Regions from separate parts of the Homo sapiens genome. Here all the other regions are linked to region 1. The links are contacts of gene promoters, found by promoter capture Hi-C in blood cells and fetal thymus (Javierre and others, 2016). All regions are on one chromosome and are shown on one strand. The core of a region is centred on a gene start or on the middle of the fragment in contact, and the rest is flanking DNA. Distances in the headings are between cores, read along the strand shown. Region 1 holds the start of YME1L1 (YME1 like 1 ATPase). Region 2 overlaps WAC (WW domain containing adaptor with coiled-coil). Region 3 overlaps WAC (WW domain containing adaptor with coiled-coil). Region 4 overlaps WAC (WW domain containing adaptor with coiled-coil). Region 5 overlaps WAC-AS1 (WAC antisense RNA 1).

Region 1 (2,678 bases), core at 89-2,588:
ATGTTCTAGCCACACTAGCCTTATTTTTGTTCCTTCAACCTGCTAAACCCTTTCCTAACTCAGGACCTCCAGGTATTTTTCTGTATGCCTGTGATACCTGTTCACTCTTCACCTTGCTAAGTCCTACTCATATTTACTTCATATCAATATTAAGAGAAGATTCCACATTTGCTTTGCTCACCTGGTACATAACTGATGCCCAATAACAAGCAGCTGCTTCAGTTTGTTAGCCAGTACTAGCACAAAAAATTAAAAATTCTTAAAATGAGGGGGAGTAAAAGTTACACAAAGGAACACAATCATATGCTTAAATCAAGAACCTAAGAGTGTCGATTTTCTTAAAAATTATGTTTTAAAAAAACTCAATGTTTTAAAAACTATTTCTTTGCAAAACTGTAGGAACTCTCAAAAAATCTATTAAAATGTTACCATCAAAAAAAGAGACTGGAATGAAGCAAGAATAAAACATTGTCACAAGTGATTGCCCAAGAGCGTAATGAAAACCCTTGAAATCATTTTTCTCTTCACTACCTTTTGTTTTACAAAACGATGAGGATGAGGCTGAATCAAAATTTTAACTGCAAACAGTTTACGACTCGGAAATACACATTTTAGTTACTTCTGGTCAAAATGAGAAAAAAACTTGCATGGCTGGCCATCCGAAATATTATACCATGTTTGGGTTAAATTTAAATTCCATTTAAAAGGAAATAAAGAGCAGGGGATAGGGGCTGTGAACACTAAAGCCACTGGAAAGTCGGAAAAAAGGGAACATTACCTGCTCCCTTTAATGTATGGTACAGACATTTTCCCACCCCAGAACGCCGGACACTGAACAATGCCGGACGGATTCTCTAGCAGAAATTCCACGCAATCAGTTCGATAAGCCAGGGTCTCTCTCTATCACTGAGCTCACATCCCGCCTCTGCCCTCAACAGCTTCATCGTCAGCACTGAAGTCTCCGGCCCACTCTCAGCGTCGTCCCCTGATCCACTCCTCAATCCTGGGATTCGCATTGAGTACATCACTTCATTTCTAGAGTCCCTTCTGAGAAATCGCTTCCACGAGCGCAATTTGCAAACAGCCACGGGCAGGGCGGGAGGAAAAAAAATGGGCTGAATGCCTGGCTTACCTGGGGTTGCACCGTGCTCGACAAGGAAAACATCTCCGGCGGGCCCTCAGCGACCTCACCCGCCTGCCGAAACTGTGCCCCTCTGTCCACGGCCCGGCGGGGAGGCGCTGAGCCCTTCTTTTTTCCTTTTTCTCCGACCCGTTGCCCCTCACTCCTCCCAGAAACGGAAAATGGCCTCCCCTTCCTACAGCTACTGCAACGACAGACAATCCGCCCCGGAAGGCGAGGCGCTAACTCAACAGTACTTCCGGGGCAAGTGAGCGCCCACAAGGCCAAGTGCCTGCGCGTTCTTTCCCGCGGAAGTAGTTGACATTTACAAGGAGCAGCGCCCCCAAAGGTCTTTAGCTGTTTTTTAAGGGGAGAACAGCCTTTACCCTCTTTGGACTTTTTCTTCGTTTTTTTTTTTTTTGGAGACGGAGTTTCGTTCTTTCGCCCAGGCTGGCGTACAGTGGCGCGATCTCGGCTCACTGCAACCTCTGCTCCCCGGGTTCAAGCGATTCTCCTGCCTCAGCCTCCCGAGTAGCTGGGATTACAGGTGCCCGCCACCACGCCCGGCTGATTTCCTCTTAAGACTTTCTACAGCTTCCTTATGAAATCTTCTGACTGGGCCTTGAGCAATAAGGTCTTTTGCTACAATTTAGTGCTCTTTTCCTCACACTAAATCGAAAACTCTCCCTGTTGGTCCTGATCTGTTTCAGTCAGGCAAATTACATCCTGGGAAAACGTCAGATGACAGGGGAGGCCACTCGCTTCCTGCTCATCCAGTTTCGACACTTTCTGTGCTTTCATTAGCTTCCAGACCTCAGCCCTGGCCCTCGCTTTACTGTACAGTCAGAACTGGTTTCTACGCCTCGCGAGGGTGGGAGGTCGTGTATGGGAGGAGGACCGCTTCCCACCAGCCTCGTTGGGAAGCCAGGAGAAATCTCTTCAAATCCTGCGATTCAGAGTCAAGTCCCAGTCGTCCTTTTTCTGGTCGGCCCAGAACTGTTTGTGCCTCCTCCCTCATGAGGAATGATGTCAGTGGGGCCGCGGTCGCCGCCCACGAAGAGTGTAAGGCTGCGAAGTCGGGGCTTTCCCGACGCCCCCTCCGTCCGCGTCTGCGTAGGGGAGGTGACGAGGGCGGGGCGCGGCGGCGGGGTGACGTCACGGCCGCGCGCGGCGTGGGCGGAGCCTCACTTTGAACCCAGTTGGCGGGAGTGGCTGCTCGCGGAGGGGCAGTGTCTGCGGGGCCGCTGTATGCTGTCCAGCGATGGATCCCACCGCGGGAAGCAAGAAGGAGCCTGGAGGAGGCGCGGCGACTGAGGAGGGCGTGAATAGGATCGCAGTGCCAAAACCGCCCTCCATTGAGGAATTCAGCATAGTGAAGCCCATTAGCCGGGGCGCCTTCGGGAAAGTGTATCTGGGGCAGAAAGGCGGCAAATTGTATGCAGTAAAGGTAGGAAGTCAACGAGTAGCAAGGAAGGGGTTAGGCCCTTCGGCCCTCCTTCCTGCCCCACCGGCTTGGGCAGGCCCCGGGGTTGCTGGAGCGAGGAGTCTGGGTGGCCTG
Region 2 (2,678 bases), core at 112-2,611, 1.5 Mb after region 1:
TGTAAGGGTTAAATGAGATTACTTACGTTAGGTGCCTGGCACATGAGAGGTGTTCCTTTGATGTTTGTTCCAATTTTCTCTATTCAGGTAATTTTTCAGGCTGATTATCTTTTTATTTAGAATCTACATCAGGAGACAAACCCGTATCACATTCTTGCACAACTCCTTCCACGTCTTCTGCCTCTGGACTGAACCCCACATCTGCACCTCCAACATCTGCTTCAGCGGTCCCTGTTTCTCCTGTTCCACAGTCGCCAATACCTCCCTTACTTCAGGACCCAAATCTTCTTAGACAATTGCTTCCTGCTTTGCAAGCCACGCTGCAGCTTAATAATTCTAATGTGGACATATCTAAAATAAATGAAGGTAAATCTTCATAACAGTTTTTTAAAAATTTATTTGCATTGTGCAAAGTTATGTAAGTAGTAAAATCCCCAGTTTAGGAATGGTCTTTGTTTTCTTTTGAAATTTATAGTTGAACACTTTTTTTTGTTTTGTTTTTTGTTTTTGGAGTTTGGAAATTTATATCCACTGTAGTTTAAGACCATTGGTAGTATAATTGAGTTAGTGGTGCTTGGATCTTGTGTATATTTTTCAATACTTGTTATGTGTCTGGTAGTTACTGGAGGTAAGCCATTCTATATACATAATGTGTATGGTGAAATTTTACATTAAAACAATCGAGCGTTTGTTGAAATCGGTATTAAAACTTCTGGTATGTTTCTAAAAAACCTGTATAAATAATTACTCAGAATATTTAAAATATGCTAATTACTAGAAAAGTAGGAATTCAGGTAGCTACTTAAAATACTTTCAAAAAATTCTGAGAAGGGAGGAGATAGGTACTAGATAAAATGTTGCCATTTTTTTCCTGGTGAATTGCATTATTTAATTCCAGCCTTGCTTTTCAGTAATGCTACTTACGTTTCAGAATATTTAGTCAGCCACTTTGAAAAAGTATGAATAAAAGTAGATGTGTTAATTTGGAAACTATTCAGATTCACACGTTAATTCCTAAAAGCACTGCAAAATTTTCTGTTGAAAATGATAAATTTTTAGGCCGAGGCGGGTGGATCACCTGAGGTCAGGAGTTTGAAACCAGCCTGACCAAGATGGTGAAACGCTATCTCTAATAAAAATACAAAAGTTAACCAGGCGTGATGGCACATGCCTGTGAATCCCAGCTACTCGGGAGGCTGAGGTACGAGAATCGCTTGAACCCAGGAGACGGAGGTTGCAGTGAGCTGAGATGGTGCCTGTACACTCCAACCTGGCTGACAGAGCAAGACCCCATCTCAAAATAAATAAAAATAAAGTGATCAATTTTTATGTACATTTTCACATAATATACTTAAAAGTAGTGTTAAGTGGTTAAGTTCTTATCCTAAAAATAAAGCTATCTCAGGCTAGTTGGTCATTAGTCTGTTCTTACTGTCCTTAATTTTTTTGTATTTTTATTTTATTCTCTAACCACGCAGTTCTCTTGTGTGGTAGGTAAATGTTTCATTTAGGCAAAGTGGGGCTTTTAGATAGTTTGAGGAGGCCAGATGCAGTGGCTCATGCCTGTAATTCCAGCACTTGCTGAGGCTGGTGGGCCACTTAAGCCCAGACCAGCCTGGGCAACATGGTGAACCCCATCTCTACTAAAAATACAAAAACTTAGCCAGGTGTGGTGGTGAACGCCTGTAGTTCCAGCTACTTGGGAGGCTGAGGTGGGAGAATAACTTAAGCCTGGAAGGTGAAGGCTATGGTAAGCTGTGATTGCACAACCCTGTCTCCAAAATAAATAGTTGAAGAAATAATAGTTAATGTCAATAATAAAATATCTTACACATCAAAAATACATGGTATTCCTAAATACTTTTTTTTTTTTTTTTTTTTTGAGATGGAGTTTTTGCTCTTGTTGCCCAGGCTGGAGTGCAGTGGTGCAATCCCGGCTCACTGCAACCTCTGCCTCCCAGGTTCAAGCGATTCTCCTGCCTCAGCCTCCCTAGTAGCTGGGATTACAGGCACCTGCCACTATGCCCAGCTAATTTTTTGTATTTTTAGTAGAGACAGGGTTTCACTATGTTGGGCAGGCTGCTCTTGAACTCCTAACCTTAGGCGATCCACCTGCCTCAGCCTCCCAAAGTGCTGGGTGTGAGCTACCATGTCCGGCCAATACTCCCTTTTTTGTATCCATTTTTAGATTTATTAGGGTGGATCTTGATATAGGATTTGAATGGCCAGCTTGTCTAAAAGGGCAATCACATGAAATAGCAGTTGTTTATCCAGTTAATTCCATATAACATACTGAACACTCACATATGAATAGGTTTCTGACATAATTGGAAGTTCCTGTGAACACTCGTTAAATTTTGTAGAGAGACTTTGTTCAGGTGATCATCTTAATTAGTGTAAAAGAAACTCTGTTGGTTTACCTTTATTGTAAACCCATTAAGTTTCTTTTTCTCTGCCTCAGATCATTTCAAATTTGGGACCCATTGTATTACTCCTATCTAGTAGGCTTTTATTTTGAGAGTTCTAGGTTGAAATATTCCAGTTTCTTGTGAGTTCTCTTCCTTGTCAGGTTGTTACTAATGCCACATAAGCCTCTTGTTTTTATATGAATGTATGAAATAATATGTTTTTAGTTCTTACAGCAGCTGTGACACAAGCCTCACTGCAGTCTATAATTC
Region 3 (2,678 bases), core at 130-2,629, 1.4 Mb after region 1:
CTTCAGATGCAGTAAGTATTATAAACATGTCCAATATGGTTTCTTTGGAATTTTTTGCAAAAAAAAAAAAAAAATACAACCCATGGCAAGTCTTGTAAAATCTAATGTCTTTTTTTTTAAAAATGTTTCAATCACAGTCTTAATGTGTTTATTTGATATTATTATTATCCTATTTTAAACCAATGAGCCAAGCTTATTAATGGAACTGAAGAGTTGTCAGAAGATAGTATCTTTGGTATTACTTAATTAGGATTCCTGTACAAAGCAATGTTTTTCTGTTGTGATATCTGAGATAAAAAGAACTTCAGGCTGAAACTTCTTTAAAGTGGTCTAAGTTAAGCTTACTTTCTTTCCATAGTGTATAAACTCCTTATAGGATACATTTATTATCTACTGTGTCTTACACACTCTCCCAGACGCTAGGGATATACAGTTACCTGTCCACAAGGGTGTGAAACCCAGTGAGGGATTTTAAATATTTTCAGAAGTTTAGTTTAATGAAATAAGTTATTTATTTTGAATTTTAAGTCATAGGTTTAAATGAAATTTTTAATTCAGCAAAAAATTAATAAGGTTTTAATTCACCAGGCATATGCTAAGCTGCATATATATGGAATGTGGCCCATCTTAAAGGAATTCTGGGACCTGTGGTAGAGACAGAAAAGTAAACAAATAGTGCCTGTTAAAGTTGCTTTGGAGGGTGCTCAACACAGGACTCCCAGCTTGGGTGAGGAAGATAGTAAAGTATAACTAATGCTTCCCAACAGGCTGACTAAAACTTGGGCAGTAAAAGAGCTCTGGACTTCATAGCATACAAAGGAATAGAGCTTGCAACGATGTAGAAGTGTAAAATAGTGTAGCACGGTTAGAGAACTGCCAGAATTTTGACAGTGTGGAAAAATGGCAGGAGCTAAAGTTACAGAGGTAAGTGGGAGGCATATCATAAGAAGCTCTATGTCATGCCAAGGAATATTAATTATACATATATAAGGCAGTGGAGAGGTATTGAAGGATATAATCAGTAAAATAACATCATATTTGCAATTTAAAAAATTATCTCGGGTAGCAGTGTGGAAATATAGGAAAGAATGAACAATGAGAAGGCTGACAAAGGTGTAGGTTGAGTCCAACTGATTTTGCTTTGAGTATTTGAGTGATCATCATGTCTTAATTGACGTTGAAAGACCTTCAGATTTTATTTTTGTTTCTTGTTGAAGCAGTGTGGATAGTACATTTCCATAGAAAATTGAGACATTAGGATAATATTTGGATAAAAATAGATAGTATTAGTGTCCATTTAGAAAATTATACTATTGGCCAGGCACGGTGGCTCGCTCCTGTAATCCTAGCACTTGGGAGGCCAAGGCGGGTGGATCACTTGAGGCCAAGATGGTGAAACCCCATCTCTACTAAAGATACAAAAGTTATCCTGGCATGGTGGCAAGCACCTGTAATCCCAGCTACTTGGGAGGCTGAGGCAGGAGAATTACTTGAACCTGGGAGGCGGAGGTTGCAGTGAGCCAAGATCACCCCATTGCATTCCAGCCTGGGTGACAGAGCAAGACTGTCTCAAAAAAGAAAAGAAAATCATGTTAATTGTTTTAACACAGAATTTAATATATGGGATTGGTTAAGCAGATACTGAAAAAAAACAAAGGAACCCTCAGGTAACACATACAGTAATCACCACTCAAGGCTATTGAACAACCGGATGAATTTGGGGTTTTAGAACCCAGTAGCATAGAGGAGGAGCCCCACAGAGCTGGTAGTAATACCTCTGAGGGTATGGTGAAGCTAGTTCTAGTGGTGGGATGGTAGCCGAGAGCTGGTAACAACGGCGGCTGCTCCTTTCTCCTGCCTTTCATTCGTCTAATGCTTCTAAGAGGAAGGAAGCCATCTGGCTAAATAGAGAGTAATTTGCACTGTCCCAGCTCTAGCATCACAGAGCGGACTATCAAAGGGTGGGACTGGGACTGAGAAAACAGCTCGCTAAGCCTTCACGCGTGCTATCGTCAAACTATTTGTGATGGGTCATTTTCTTTTTCCTTTCTTTTTTTTTTTTTTCCAAGTAGGGAAGGGAGGATGAGGCCAAGTGGGGAGAAGGGGGGGCAAATCATTTTCAGTGAGATGTATATTCAGGATTTTAGAATGAATCTGCCTGTTTTCCTGGAAAACAGTCTATTACTTTACAAAGTAACACTAACCTAAAGTTCCACTTGTCATTGACAGTTTAGATTTGCTATTTGTCTACTCCTAGGACAGCAGCAGCCCTTGTGGGCATTGTTTTTTTTTTATTTTGTAAAACACAAATGCAAACAAAACAAACACCTCATTCAGGGAAGACAAACTTTGATTATTAGGATTTTACAGCAGTGGGTTTAACCCAGTGAAGTCAGAAAGAATAAATAATGGGCGTAGATAAGCTTGAATGATTCAAATCATAAGGGTGTCAGGGAACTTAATTATGTGAGTGAAAGTTGAAGACCATTACTAGAATAGATAAAATGTTTTGTGTTTCTGGAATCCGCGTTCTGGTTTCTCTAGATTTCACCTGTAGGTGCATAAGTAGTGGTCTTTTGCATTATAATGTACCTAGTGGGAATGATACAAACAGCCCTTATGAACTGTAAATTTAATCTTACCTGAAAAGTTGGCTTTAGAGTTATCTACACAGATAT
Region 4 (2,678 bases), core at 108-2,607, 1.4 Mb after region 1:
CCCAGCTTGAAAATTTAGAGTTTTTCCTTCTTTATCCTTGGATCTAAAACTTCACAAATCTCACTTTGTAAGTGTAGGCCTTTTTTCGTTACTTCTAATTAGTGCATTTTAATTTTTTAATTACATTTTAATTTTCTTTCTCTTTTTCTTTTTTTTTTTTTTTCTTCTTTGAGAGAGAGTTTCGCTCTTGTTGCTGAACCTGGAGTGTAGTGGCGCAATCTTGGCTCACTGCAATCTCCGCCTCCCGGGTTCAAGGGATTCTCCTGCCTCAGCCTCCCGAGTAGCTGGGATTACAGGTGCGTGCCACCATGCCTGGCTAATTTTTTTTTATTTTTAGTAGAAACAGGGTTTTACCATGTTAGCCAGGCTGGTCTTGAACTCCTTACCTCAGGTGATCCACCTGCCTCTGCCTCCCAAAGTGCTGGGATTTACAGGAGTGAGCCACCACGCCCGGCCAACATTTTAATTTTCTAAAGACCCTGGACAATACCCTGAATGCTTAGTGCCTTTTTGTCTAACCCTATCCGTTAGAGAGTCATCTTCCACACTCTTTTTTTCTTCTCTTTTACTTGTTTCTAACTTTTCTCCTTTTAGAACTCCTGTTAGATGTTTTTTGGTTCTATTCTACTTCTCTTTTGCCTGGTAAATAGTAAGTACAGTAGTTAGATAATTTTTAAGTGTACACTCCACTCTGGGGAGAATCTCTTGGCATCTTCTTTCAACCCCCTGATAATTAAAGCTGTGTTCATTTCATCCACCTATTCCAAGTTTTATTTTGGGTGCTGTGCTTTTTTCATAGCTTTTTGTGATTTTATAACTGATTTACTAGAAATACTCTTGAGAATTTGGGTTATTTTTTAGTTTTTTTCATGTTAAATATATGTTTTTCTGGTTGAGTTTGGTGCATCATACCCGTGTTACTGGGTTCCTCAGATGCTTGCTGTTCATAGTTGTCTATTCATGTTTGGGAATACGAGACTAGGTCAACTCTATCAAATAGAATATATGGTTGAAAATGTTTGCTGTCTGAGCTGTCCAGTGTGGTAGCCACCAGCTACGTGTATATTGAGCATTTGAAATGTGGCTAGTGCAGCTAAGAAACTCAATTTTTGTAGTTTTTTTTTGGTTTGGTTTTGTTTTTGAGGCAGAGTCTTGTCCTGTCACCCAGGCTGAATGGAGTGCACTGGTATGGTCATGGCTCACTGCAGCCTCAAAAAAACTCCTGGGCTCAAGTGATCCTCTTGCCACAACCTCCCAAGTAGTTGAGCCTGCAGGCATATGCTGCCACTTCTGGCTAATTTTTGCATTTTTTATAGAGACAGAGTTTTACCATGTTACCCAGGCTGGTCTTGAACTCCTGGCTTTAAGTAATCCTCCTGCTTCAGCCTCCCAAAGTGCTGGGATAATGGGTGTGAGCCACCACATCCAGACAAGTTTTTGATTTTTTATGGTGTTGGCTTTCCTTTCTGTGCTGCTGTTTTAATCTCATGCTTGAGCCGTGACTCAAAAGTTACTTTTTCTGAGGTGTTCTGTCTTTGCTGCTTTCTCAGTTTTCATACCCTACCTGGGTATAGCTGTGGGTATCTCATGCTTCTTTTAATCCTTTGATTTTCAGGCCTACATATCTCTTTGCTTATTGGACAGCCACCACCTAATGTTCTATAGATAATCTTCCTAAATCTTTTTCTAATTTGGCTATTCCCTGTCCTGATTAATGCCTGGGAAGTTGTCCCTGATTCTTTTTTCCTGTGTTTATGGGCAACTTCCAGAACTCATTGCCCTGTTTTAAAATATTGCAATATCTTGTTTACAGACCTGTTGTCTCATTCTTTACCCGCAGCTGAGTAAAAATTAACTACAAATTTAAACATACTCTTTTCATTAACCCTGAAAGCCTGAATTTTATAGGTCTTAATTATGTTGTATTGATGACAGTTGTCCAAAAATGAGTTTTTCTCTCCGCTTCCACATATACTTATCAGATACATTTTCTTATCTAATGTACATAAGAGGCCACTGAAATGAACTGTTATGTCCATGCCTGAAAGTTAGCATCTCAGACTAGGTTTCTGGCTTGTATAAATATAACTTGAAGTTTAAAGAGTTTTAAGTTTTGGCCAGGCGCAGTGGCTCACACCTGTACTCCCAGCAGTTTGAGGTCCCGAGGTGGATGGATCACGAGGTCAGAAATTCAAGACCAGCCAGGCCAAACATGGTTGAAACCCTATCTCTACTAAAAATACAAAAAGTTAGCTGGGTGTGGTGGCCAGCACCTGTAATCCCAGCTACTCGGGAGGCTGATGAGGCAGGAGAATCGCTTGAACTTGGGAGATGGAGGTCGCGGTGAGCGGAGATCACACCACTGCACTCCAGTGGGTGATAATGCAAGACTCAGTCTCAAAAAAAAAAAAAAGTTTGTTTTATGAGCCACCATTACCCAAAGTTCACATTACTCTTTTCTCAGCCACTCTCTGCCTTCTCTATAATCTAGTCATGTAAAAGCACTTACCCAGTCCTAGGCATCTTTTTTTTTTTTATGCTGTTGTCCCATTGTATGTGTTTTCATAGCCAAAATTGTCCTCTCTCCACTCCTACCTCACCTTTTTTTTTTTTCCTTTGCCAAACCTCTTACTCCTTCAAGGTCCCACTTTATTTTATGAAGCCTTCCTTGAGCCTAT
Region 5 (2,678 bases), core at 73-2,572, 1.4 Mb after region 1:
TTTGTGGAGAAATGCGCTCTTGGAGTTTCCTACTCATCATTTTCAATGACATCACCTCCAAAGGACTGATTCTTGAAGAACTTCAACATTTGGTAGTGGAGTAGACAAGGACGACTCTGTGAAAAGTAATGAGAGGAGCAGTCAGAGAAGGAAGAAGAAAATACAAAATGTGTTGTGCCATAGAAGGCGAGAGAGAAGGGCAACGCAAAGGGAGGCACTATCAATGTCAAATATTCTGAGATTAAGAAAGAGTGAAAAAAATGTTCATTAAACATAGGTGCAAAGAAGTTGTTTGTGACCTGTGACCTTAACACTATTTCTAAATGAGACAACATTGGTATTTTGAGCAGGACAAGTCTTAAATATAAAGAACTGTCCTACGCATTGCTACATGTTTAGCATCTTTGACTTCTGGTAACTAAATATCTGTAGCACCCTTCACCCTTAAGTCATACTGAAAATATAGCAGTGATAAAAAAAAAAAATACTGCCACACATTTCCAAATGCCCCCTGGAGACTCAGCACTGCCTCTTTAAGAACTACTGCCTCAGGGAAATCTATTTTGCTAATATTACGGGGGCAGATGTCAAACAATAGTGACCTAAAATGTCAATACGAGAGTAAAGAATGAAACAAGTGAGGTACCACAAATAAGACTTAGCAGATGTTTGGCTGAAGTGAGCAGTTAAGAGTATACGGTCAAGAAAGGGTTTTCTGGTGGTAGGATTTATTATGTTTAAAGATCAGTGGAAATAATCCAGATGAAAGAGAGTTTGAATATACAAAGGAAGGGATAATTGATAATATAAGGTGAACTGAAGGGGGGGTGGCAAGAAAGGACAGATAGAGAAAATGGCCTTAGATGAGAAGCTTACTTTCCGCTTTGAAACAGTAACCTGAAGCACTTAGGCAATGCTGTAGGATCCTAACTGGTTTCCCTGCTCCTTGCCTTGCAATACAGATATTTTCAACACAGTAGCCATGTCATTTTCTGCTCATAACTTTTCAATGGCTTCCCAATTAACTCAGAATAAAAGCCAATCTTCTTATAATGGCCTATAAGATTCTTCACAGTCTGTTCCTCCACCCACTTCTTTAACCTCACCTCATTTCCTAATATTTTCCCTCTCAGTCACTGCCCTTCAATCACAGAGCTTTCCTTATTATTTCTGAACACATTAGGCAGTCTTTCCTCAGGACCTTTGCTCTTGCTGTCCCCTTTGCCAGAAACATTCCTTTCCAGACACCTGTATAGCTTGCTACCTCATCACCTTCAAATCTTTGCTCAAACGCCATGTGCTCAATAACCACTCTACTTGAAAACATTACTCCTCCATCCAACACTTTACCTACTGTTCTCTGTAGCACTTATTACTTTCTAAATTACTATGTCATTTGATTTTGGTGATGATGAGGCTTAAGTGGAATCAGTATATTCTATTATTTTATAATCTTCAGCAGCATGCAACTGCTCAGAGGTGCTCAGAAAATGAATGGTTGGATTAACTCAGGTTGAAGTTTCGCCAGACACAGGTAAAGGGTTTAGGGTATGCTTCTCAATATTAGCTGAACTTTAGTATCTATTACTTGGAAGAACTTTAAAAAATGGCCAATCTTGAGTCAGTAAGTAATTCTCCCAAGATCTGTTGATTGCATTATTTACATCATCCCTGCCTAGTACCATATGTTGATATGGTGACGTCCTGGTGTTTACTCCCCTTTCCTAGATAGTAATTTTTGTTGCAGTTTCTTATTTTTCGTCATAATTGAATGAAAGCTTCATATCACAAATCTGAGATCCCAAAGCATCTCCTTTTAGTTATGTATTATTCTTAAAATACAAACTCCATAAGAGCAAAACCCAAGTGACTTTGCTTAACACTATGTTCCTAAGACTTGATACGCAGAACTTCAATACTATTTTTTCAAAATGAATAACCACCAGTAGCGAAACATGTATGTGCCAGGTACTGCTAAATTATTTACACAATTTCAATTACTTTTCACAAACAGTACTATACCCTATTAAGTGAAGTTTAGAGACAAAGCAGGATAATCCTCAAGACTAGTAATTTGCCCAAGGTGATGTTGGTAGTCAATAATGTAGCCTGAGCTCTACGCAATGTCATACTGATTCTAAAACCCACGCTTTTAATCACTATACTAGGCTGAGTTTGTGAGGAAGGCAAGGACAGAGAAAAAAGAGATAGAAATGAAGTATGTGAAAATTTTTGGAAATATATCCTTATGATGTTTTAGAAATTGCAACAAAGCTTTTTAAAGTCCCTTTTGGCCAGGCGTGGTGGTTCACGCCTGTAATCCCAGCACTTTGGGAGGCGGAGGTGGCAGGTCACAAGGTCAAGAGATCGAGACCATCCTGGCCAACATGGTGAAACCCCATCTACTAAAAACACAAAGATTAGCTGGGTGTGGTGGCACGCACCCATAGTCCCAGCTACTTGGGAGGCTGAGGCAGGAGAATCGCTTGAACCCGGGAGGTGGAGGCTGCAGGGAGCTGAGATCACACCACTGCACTCCAGCCTGGCTATAGAGTCAGACTCTGTCTCAAAAAAAAAAAAAAAATCCCTTTCACAACTAGAGGCTTGAGGATTTCACTTTTTGGTTCTTCCTTCAGTTCTTCCTTCAATAGAATCACATTAAAATCTTGGTCAACCTA

What was found. The method cuts DNA at HindIII sites, captures the fragments that hold promoters and counts their contacts. A CHiCAGO score of 5 or more calls a contact.
Region 2: a contact is called between a fragment that was not itself captured here and the fragment with the promoter of YME1L1 in region 1, in 2 of 17 cell types (naive B cells and monocytes). The highest score is 5.5, in naive B cells.
Region 3: a fragment that was not itself captured here is called in contact with the fragment with the promoter of YME1L1 in region 1 in 2 of 17 cell types (naive B cells and monocytes); the score reaches 6.2 in naive B cells.
Region 4: a contact is called between a fragment that was not itself captured here and the fragment with the promoter of YME1L1 in region 1, in 1 of 17 cell types (erythroblasts). The highest score is 5.0, in erythroblasts.
Region 5: a contact is called between a fragment that was not itself captured here and the fragment with the promoter of YME1L1 in region 1, in 1 of 17 cell types (total B cells). The highest score is 5.5, in total B cells.

The regions. Positions count from the first base shown.
Region 1 is chr10:27,153,046-27,155,723 of GRCh38, forward strand. It overlaps YME1L1 (YME1 like 1 ATPase), which reads right to left and starts at 1,339. Exons shown (of 19, transcript NM_014263.4): 1 at 1,133-1,339. The coding sequence starts at 1,165. MASTL (microtubule associated serine/threonine kinase like) reads left to right here and starts at 2,307. Exons shown (of 12, transcript NM_001172303.3): 1 at 2,307-2,567. The coding sequence starts at 2,382. RefSeq lists an enhancer at 2,069-2,128 and silencers at 2,189-2,398, 2,196-2,394. The HindIII fragment of the contact is 10,812 bases long and covers 1-2,678 here.
Region 2 is chr10:28,608,066-28,610,743 of GRCh38, forward strand. WAC (WW domain containing adaptor with coiled-coil) reads left to right here. Exons shown (of 14, transcript NM_016628.5): 8 at 121-366; 9 at 2,634-2,678. Among named protein-coding and RNA genes, the nearest start is that of BAMBI, 68 kb to the right of the region's middle. The HindIII fragment of the contact is 3,181 bases long and covers 1-2,678 here.
Region 3 is chr10:28,583,495-28,586,172 of GRCh38, forward strand. WAC (WW domain containing adaptor with coiled-coil) reads left to right here. Exons shown (of 14, transcript NM_016628.5): 4 at 1-11. Among named protein-coding and RNA genes, the nearest start is that of WAC, 52 kb to the left of the region's middle. The HindIII fragment of the contact is 2,083 bases long and covers 339-2,421 here.
Region 4 is chr10:28,547,768-28,550,445 of GRCh38, forward strand. The region is part of intron 3 of WAC (WW domain containing adaptor with coiled-coil); the gene reads left to right. Among named protein-coding and RNA genes, the nearest start is that of WAC, 16 kb to the left of the region's middle. The HindIII fragment of the contact is 4,092 bases long and covers 1-2,678 here.
Region 5 is chr10:28,525,893-28,528,570 of GRCh38, forward strand. WAC-AS1 (WAC antisense RNA 1) reads right to left here. Exons shown (of 3, transcript NR_033805.1): 2 at 56-116. Among named protein-coding and RNA genes, the nearest start is that of WAC-AS1, 5.1 kb to the right of the region's middle. The HindIII fragment of the contact is 907 bases long and covers 870-1,776 here.